2 separate regions of the Homo sapiens genome follow, and region 1 is linked to region 2. Evidence: promoter capture Hi-C in human tissues and cell types (Jung and others, 2019). All regions are on one chromosome and are shown on one strand. The core of a region is centred on a gene start or on the middle of the fragment in contact, and the rest is flanking DNA. Distances in the headings are between cores, read along the strand shown.

What was found. Contacts are between HindIII fragments. The study calls those that stand out against the background at their distance.
Region 1: a fragment that was not itself captured here is called in contact with the fragment with the promoter of MCU in region 2 in 4 of the 25 tissues and cell types used here (aorta, dorsolateral prefrontal cortex, heart left ventricle and 1 more).

The regions. Positions count from the first base shown.
Region 1 is chr10:72,781,630-72,786,275 of GRCh38, forward strand. The region is part of intron 1 of MCU (mitochondrial calcium uniporter); the gene reads left to right. Among named protein-coding and RNA genes, the nearest start is that of MIR4676, 63 kb to the left of the region's middle. RefSeq lists a silencer at 1,742-2,036. The HindIII fragment of the contact is 4,735 bases long and covers 985-4,646 here.
Region 2 is chr10:72,690,139-72,694,344 of GRCh38, forward strand. It overlaps MCU (mitochondrial calcium uniporter), which reads left to right and starts at 2,005. Exons shown (of 8, transcript NM_138357.3): 1 at 2,005-2,163. The coding sequence starts at 2,014. RefSeq lists enhancers at 1,623-1,682, 3,353-3,442 and silencers at 1,883-2,342, 2,433-2,482, 2,503-2,592. The HindIII fragment of the contact is 2,893 bases long and covers 298-3,190 here.

The DNA.
Region 1 (4,646 bases), core at 2,102-4,601, 93 kb after region 2:
TCCTGAGAATCAGTTGAGGCTTAAATATGAGAGCTTAGCCTGAGCTAATTCCTAGGTGAAGAATGAGAGTGACAGGTTACTTAGTTCCCAAATAATACTTCAGAAAAATAGGAACCTACTTTTATGTTATTTCTTTTTTTTTCTTCTTCCTTTGGTTGCTGCAGTATGTTTAAGGTCTTTGCGACTTGGCCAAAGGAATAATGATCTTGGAATCCATTTTAGTGACAGGATCTCTCTGGAAGATCCAAATAGTCAATTCTGACAAAACAAGGACACTGTGCTTTGTGGCCATGAATAGGCTGCAAAAAGGGGAAACTCCTTTTCATCTTCATCAGATGTTTGGGGTCACTTTCATGAAAGAAACCAATGAATGCTACCAGGACACTGCAGACTCCTCCCCACAGTCCCCAGATCATGAGTCTCTATACTCTGCCCCAGAGCTCTCCTTCACCATTGCTGATTCCACAAAAAATACCATGACACACATTCAGATGAGAGGAACACAGCAATTGGCAGTACAAAAGATTGTGCCATATTCCTCCTTAGCCTGCCCCAATACTCCTTTGTGGAGTGCTTATAGAGTTAGAGCGATACTTAAGCTTGTCCATTTCTACTTGTAGAGTGCCCGGTACCTTCATACCCTCATGCTATGTGTACTTCTTCACCCTGTGCTTTTTCAAATACTCTTTTATTCTTTTCCGTTTTTCTAACTCGTACATAATCCTTAAAATCGTGTATCTGTTTTGTTGTTGTTTTTGGAGATGGAGTTTTGCTCTTGTCACCTGGGCTGGGGTGCAGTGGCGCAGTCTCGGCTCACTGCAACCTCTGCCTCCTGGGTTCAAGCGATTCTCATGCCTCCAGCCTCCTGAGTAGCTGGGATTACAGGCACCTGCCACCATACCCAGCTAATTTTTGTATTTTCAGTAGAGGCGGGGTTTCGCCATGTTGGCCAATCTAGTCTCAAACTCCTGACCTCAGGCTACCCGCCTTGGCCTCCCAAAGTGTTGGGATTACAGGCATGAGCTACCACGCCCGGCCCATAATCCTTAAAAATCAAACTGAATTTCTGCCTCTTCTGTGGAACTCATTTTAACTTTTGTTTGCTTATTTAACTTTACAGGGATGTGTGTCTAGTTCCTCTCACTAGTTTCTTGCATATAGGGCTTATGTATTATTCGTATCTTGTCCAGCAAAGCCAGTAGCTTCAGAAGTTATTTTGATTCTAGTGCAGCTGTGTTACTGTGAGCCAACATCCTGCAGAAGGAGTTTAGAAATATTTGTGACTGGTTATGTCTTTCACTGAACCTAAGGCAAACCTGAGCAATTTGCAGAATCAGTTGAGGCTTAAATATGAGAGCTTATATTTAAGCTTCCTATAGGAAAATGCGAAGGGAGTTTCTGGCCATGGAAAAAGGAAATAACTCAGTTTGTTTGAAGTATTTGTGGAATGCACTTTAAGCATAATCAATATTCACCCTAAGTACTTCATTGAATAGTTTGAATGAAACCACCGCATTGTGTGTGCTCCACCTTGGTAGAGAATGTCAATGTGTAGACTTTTCAAATTAGATTTTATCATCTGGCATAGGCATACCACCTAGTTACATTATATGTAGAGCCTCCAGATACTTTAAAATAGATTATGTTTTACATTCCTTCCTATCCTTTCAGAACCATCACCTTCATGTCCAAAACAGTGTGATGCTATTCATTTTAGAATATTATTGAGGACATCACACTGGTGGCTCTTTGAAGGGATGTGTTTTGGACTCAGGTGTGGAACTGCCACATGCCACTTATTCAACTCTTTGGCATCTAGGAGGCTTTGCATATGCCATGTGCCACTTATTCAACTCTTTGGCATCTAGGAGGCTTTGCATATGCCATGTGAATCCTCTCTTCCTAGGAGAGTTTACTTAGTGGAGCAGTGTTGGGATTTCTAGCCTGGTTTCTTCTGAGGAAAAAAACATGTCAAGTTAAACCTTCCAGGATAAAGAGAGGATTTTGTTGGGGGGAGCTGTTGTATCTGAAGTGTTAATATAGAGCAAATGCAGTTTATTTTCTCAAAGGAAGGGAGAGAGATCATGCCAAGAAAAACGCATAGAGTGGGGTGGAGTGGAGTTGGGAAAGAAAATGTGACAAGTACCTAAAATCAAATGCCTATAGGAAGGATTTTCCCCATGATTAGCTCCAAATGTTGGGGAGTGGGGAGGATGTTGCTTGTTTCTTTCTTTATTTCTTTTTAAAAAATTGTTTTACTTTGTTCTTGACTCTTTAGTTTCAAAAGCAGATTAAGGAAAAGCTTATTAGGAAGTCTAGAGCCATAGGCACTATAGAAATTACCAGCCCCCAAAAGTCAATACCCAGTTACTTTACCTTTTTGGCTGTTCCACGTAATTAACCCTGCTGCTTGATCCAAGTGAAGCCGGGGGAAAGCCGGGCACCGTTGGATGGTGTAGCTCCTTGCTTAACCCCTCATGTTGTACTGCAAAGATGAATGCCCACTTACCTGGATCTCTCAGGGGATGACATTTTCCAAAAGAAGATTTTCTTCTGCTCCCTCTTGAGAACAATATAAAGAGTATGTAATTCAGAGAGATTACTTTGAATTTCACTAAAAGGGAAGTACAAAGGCTTTGTTTTTTCAGATCCTATCAAATTAATACTGTCACGTTTGGAAAATGTTGCTCTGTTTTGATAGATCTCTTAGAAGGATGTGTCTTATGCAAATAGTAATTGTGATTTTTAAAGCTAATATAAATGTGATTCATTTACTTAAAATCAAGCCACCTTGTAGCTGTGAGTAATTTTCCCATTTTGTTGAAGGTAAGTACAATTTTTAATTGGCTACATTTGGTTGCAGGAGAGGTTAAAGAATAGATTTAAGTAGGCATGTCTGAAAAGGACAGAAAGTTCCACAAAGCAGTTGTCAGCAGGGATTAGATCTCTGGATGTCCTTGTTTGTCAGGAAAAGCCTTCTGTGTATCCAGTAGCTTCTGAAAATGTTAATGTGGCACTGTGCAGGGAGTCAAGGGAACAGTCTCCTCATTTTCAGTGCAGGATGCTAGGGAAAGCCTGTCCGTATGTGTGCGTGGGTGTGTGAGTGAGGGCTGGCTGTGCACCCTGCCTCTCTGGCTGAAGTAAGTTGCAGAGCAGCTTTGCCTTTTCATGGGCTTGGGTGTGGGGAATCCCTCCTACCAAGAGTATTTTGGGAAATTCCTAAATGCTGATGTGTTCTCAGCTCTATATAATGCCCTTGTTGGAGTGAGGAGCAAAACACACATGGATAATGATTTTAAAGCACCAGTCAACCAATTCCTGGTGTGTGTGTCTTTTACTTGCTTGATAGAGCTGTTCAAGGAGAATCTTGCGTTGTCAAGGATTTTAGGCTTCTACATAGTACAGGGATTGCTCTTCTTTTCCTTTTCCAGGGCTCTTCCTGTCTCTAGATATTTAGCATACAGATGCAGTTTCATGATGTAGCACGAGAATCTCCCACATTTCCACATATATTACACAGTCGGCGAAGCAAGTGGTAGTGGTGGCTGCTCCAGCCAAACCTGGCAGTGCTACTGCCGTCACTTTTCTAATAACCTTGGTGTCTCTGCAACAAGGTTAGTGGTGGTGTTTACCAAAGCTACAACTTTGTTTCTCCTTTCTCTTTCCCTGCTTCTGTTGTCTCCCTGTCTCCCCTCCTGCTGCCCCCTACCACTTAGGTTAATGAACTTCCCTGTGGTATGCAGAAACTAGTCAGACATGCATCTTTAAAACACATTTTAGAGTTTTCAAAAATGTGCATAATAGAAATATATCCTAAAGTTCAAAAACATTCTGAGATTGTCACAGTTAGTGGCAGATTAAGGAAACAGAATATAAAATAGCCAAATATATTCCAGGAAGTCATGCTTGTTGAGTAGGCATTTATCTGACAGATTGAAATGAGCTTCTTTTGTGTGTTGGCTCATAGTCCAGAATTGCAAGTTTTTCACTTTTAGTGTTTATGTAAAATTCTCCTGCTGGCTCATTTCATGGAAATAAAGGCTCACTTCATCTGTAACTTGTATCTGTAGTAAGACCCTTACAAGGGCTGCAATTTTCATCTTGGTTTAATTTGCAAGAAAAACATTATTATGTACGTATAGCTACTTGTTTTAATTTAGTGTCAATTGTCAATGTCGTAGTAGAAATGGATGAAGAAAATCCTTTTGGAAAGGAGATTTTTATAGAAATCAAAGGAGTATTGCCCAGCAACTCTTAATAGGTGTTTACTGAATATATACTATGGGAATGTATTGCACGCTTTAGAGATTCTAAAGAATAACATATCCTTGCCTACAAGGTGTTGCTTACCAATTTGAGGAGATGAAGATTGTCCGTAGAATAGGGACTGAACAAGCACTGTGTGAAAAAACGGTATTATGCTGTGCAATAAAATTTCAAGAATAGGATAATACATAAAGGAACGATTTGCTGTGGAGATCATTTCATTATATGTGAGATTGATGTCCAGAGATGTCATCCAGTTTAGTTAATGTAGTTCTGGCTAGCTGTTTGTGGAATTCTGGCTAGTTTGTTTTTTTAATGTCCTTATCCTGTTTCTTGTGTTATACTTGAACACATCAACATAGAGTGAGAAGTTACTGTTT
Region 2 (4,206 bases), core at 755-3,254:
TAATGCATATGAGTAAATCTCACTGCAGGATGCACATCTAATTTTCATGCTTGGAAAAATAGAGTAAAGGCAATTCTAGTAAAATTTCTTAAAGTGGAAAGTGGAAATGGAGCAATCCTGATTCATAGCTAGATCTGGTGACAGCACAGAAAATAAAAACAAAACTAAAATCCATGGTGATCTCTGTAAGAAGGCATGAAGGGGTGAGAGAGAAAATGGCACAGCATGGGTAAATACATCAAATGCAGTTGGGATAAATATAGATGGGTGGAAAATAATTGTAAGGGAAATTGTTCCAGGAATGTCATGGATTTCCAACTAGGGGGATTACTGTGTGCAGCTGTTGAATGGGGGCTCATTCTTGAGGTCTCAAGTTCCACCTGTTGGGCAATAAAGCCTTTTGAGTGAGTGACATGATATCTACCCCGGAGAAGCCAATCATCTCACTGTTTTGGTGTAGGTGGGGCATAAGGATTAAACAAACAAAAAACTTCCACGTCATTTTTTAGCTATTCTTGGCCAAGAAGGTACCATTTCAGTCAAACTTTAAAGAATATTCTTAGAATAAGTGATAACATTTTCTTCGTATTTATGTGTGTGTTTTGTTTTTGTTTTAAATTTATCATCTAAGGCTACACTACAAAGATGTTTTCCAAAATTTAAAATAATGCTTGTATTTGCTTCCCAAACTATTTTCCTGCTCCAGATTTTAAAAAGAGGTGTGAGAATTTAATCAGCTCATAATAATAAACAGCTAGCAAGGAAATACTCTTCTAAGGAAATTCAGGACCCAAAATCTTTCTTAGGCAGTATTCAAGGAGCCCTCATTGTGAGTTTAAGTGGAAAGAAGTGTTTTTCAAGAGAAAGTGTTTGTTATTCCAAAGCGTATTCTGATAACTATTTCGGCAAAATTATGAAGCATCATTAAAATAGCCTTTTACATGAATTTTTTTTTTTTTTTTTGAGATGGAGTCTTGCTGTGTCGCCCAGGCTGGAGTGCAATGGCCCGATCTCGGTTCACTGCAAGCTCCGTCTCCCGGGTTCACACCATTCTCCTGCCTCAGCCTCCGGAATAGCTGGGACTATAAGCGCCCGCCACCACGCCTGGCTAATTTTTTGTATTTTTAGTACAGATGGGGTTTCACCGTGTTAGCCAGGATGGTCTCGATCTCCTGACCTCGTGATCCGCCCGCCTCTGCCTCCCAAAGTGCTGGGATTACAGGCGTGAGCCACCGCGCCCGGCCTTACATGATTTTTTATTACGTTATTAATGTGTTCTGTTTCTGTAAATGCACACAAAGTCAAATATGATAAAATAGTGCTGTTTCTGGAGAGTGTGAGAATATCCGTATAAAGGTGCTGTAAAAATGAATTGGGTATTTGAGATGTATACACGTCAGTTAATTCACTCTGAAGGCATGTACTCATTCTGGGACTTTGATATTGTAATCGTTCTACCTCTCCTATATTATGCTACGCATCACAGTCATTAGATCACTCCGTGATGTAGAGTTAATTTCAGCATATCTAAATATTATCAGTTATGAATGATAATTCTAGGCGTGTAGTTGAGAGTTACAGCATACACCGTTAATGGTTATTAATTTGGTGCCTATTTTGCCAACTTAGAACACTCACTTAGAACTCAACTTCGAACAAAGCTTTTCACAAATATCTATATCCCCCGTTACTCTTATCATAGCTCTATTGTTGGTGAAGATTAGCCGAACTGAACATGCCATCTCTATTGCTGTTATTTTCACGGGTTTGGGTGTCAATTATGGGTTCCCTAGAATTTGCCCGTAATTGACTATGTCCCACTATAGGTAACTCTGGAAGGGACTGGCAGCTTCCAGTGTGGTTCTCCCGCCTGTCGATTGGACCTTGCAGGAAGCCCCGCCTCATCAACTCAGTCAAGGGCTTTAGTTGGCCCGGCGTCGGTGAGTGGCGGGTCTTAGCTCCGCCCTGGCCGTCCGCTGCGCTGCCTGGGTCGGCGCCGTTTCCAGTTGAGAGATGGCGGCCGCCGCAGGTAGATCGCTCCTGCTGCTCCTCTCCTCTCGGGGCGGCGGCGGCGGGGGCGCCGGCGGCTGCGGGGCGCTGACTGCCGGCTGCTTCCCTGGGCTGGGCGTCAGCCGCCACCGGCAGCAGCAGCACCACCGGACGGTGAGCGAGCGCGCCCGGAGGCTCCGGGGAGGGCGGGGCGGCGCTGGCGTGTGGGAGCCGCCGGCGGGCAGGCCGCCGGGGCAGCAGGCGAGTTACCTCAACTCCCGGCCGCTCCGGAGGTTGCCGGGCACCGAGGAGCCGCCGTGCCCTTCAGGCGCCTGCGGCGGCGACCAGGAAGGGAGGGCGGGCGGGAGGAAGCCGAGAGGAGGAGGAGGGGCGACGGCGGGGATGTTCCCGCAGGACTGGGGACACCAGGGCGGGGAAGGCACGGGACTTGAACCTCTCCCCGACTCGCCCCCAATCGCGTTCCCTCCCTTCTTCGTTCTTAACAGCCCTGCCCCAAGGCTCCCTGAACGGAGCCAGATGGAAGTTGTCCCCTTTCCCTCCTCCTCCGGGCGGGTTGGGGAGTTCTGAGTTGCCGCGGCCGCCTTGTGTGTGCCAGGAGAGTGGCAGTGCCATGCTGCTGGGAGCTGCCCCGGAGAGCAGCCCAGGACCCCGGCGGGGCCGCCCCTCGTCCTCTCTCGTCCCCGAGGGGTCGGGCAGGAAGGAAAATCAAACTTTATTCCCCTCTGTGACTTCCTCTGTGTGTGTGCATGGGGAACCGGCTCCCTCGAGATGGATGCTGCATTGCTTCAGGAGGCAAGCTTCATCCTCTTGGGTCCTTAAAGGTGCTTTTGGGGGTCCTTTCGAGGGCTACTGTATAAGCGTGTTCACGCGTGCCTGAAGCGGGAAGGGTGGTCAGCAGGCACAGGAGAAGCGAATATGGTAAGTTGTTGACAGAGGCAGAGATTTGGTGGTTGTATTAACCAGTTGTTGCTGGGTTTCATTGGCTGGCAGAAAAAGAGGATTTCTGTTTGAACACTCTTGGGTGAGTGTGTGTGTGTGTGTGTGTGTGTGTGAGAGAGAGAGAGACAGAGTGTGAGAGAGATTTCTTTTTTCAATTGCAAGAGATGAATTTGGCATGGAGTTCTTAACCTAACAAGTCAGGAGGTTTCCTTCCCTTGGACTTTCTAGACCTATATGTGTTGGTCTCTGGCCAGCTCTGAGGGAAAGAATGTAGGTTTTATTTGCTGGGGCTGAGTTGTATAGTGTGATTATTGGAGGATCACTGCAAACAGCTTGATAGGAGAAACTACAATAGTACCTTCAACCCTCAATAAACACATCGCCTGCCTTGTTCTGATCATAACTCTTAAGAGGAAACTGAACTGGAGCTCTTCGGAGAGGATACTCCTAAGGCCAATGACAGCATCAAAATCGAGTGCCTGAAAGATCTATGAAAAGACCTAATGCTCTGCAAAAGCAAGGTTGTATTGTTATTATTAGTCATAGGTATGGACCCTATCCTCATTCTTGTGAGAAGATTGTACCTCTTTTTATTTGGCATACTGGCATATTGCTTTGCTGAAGCTTTTGGGTGACAGCCAAGAGCTTTTCCACAGTTCAATTTAATTTGCATGTTTCATAGCCTCTAGTTATGTGTTTTGTTCTCTTAAAAACATAAGGCCACCCCAAATTTTGATTGCATTCCCCTTTCCGTCGAACTACTTAAAGGCTTCCCAAGTTGTCCTTAAGTCCATATTTTGATAAGACATCTTCTGACTTTGCACAGTTTTTAAGACTGTTTGGGTGTGATATTCATTTAGCATTTTAAAAAATTTGTGCCTTGTATATTTTCCACTATGCAAATTTGTCAGGCTGTGAGTGTCTCCCTTGTGGGGATACTTCACGAAGGTGTTCTCTGTGCTATTCTAGGGTGGGTAAAAATGAAGTGCTGAATTTGTAACTGAAAGCACAATTAAAACGAAGTGTTATTTCTAAAGGGCAGGAATGTTATGGGAATGGTGACTTGTACATGAATTTAGAATTGTAAGATTTTGAAAAAAATTGAACCTGATTATTTAAAGTGTATAAACATTTTATTTTTCTACAATTCTTCTGAAGCCATCATGTATACAGCTGTTTCCATAGGATAGTCTGTGATTCTTTACAAGAAATTCCATTTAAAAGATATTGAGGCCCTAAAAAGAGAGAGACTTGGCC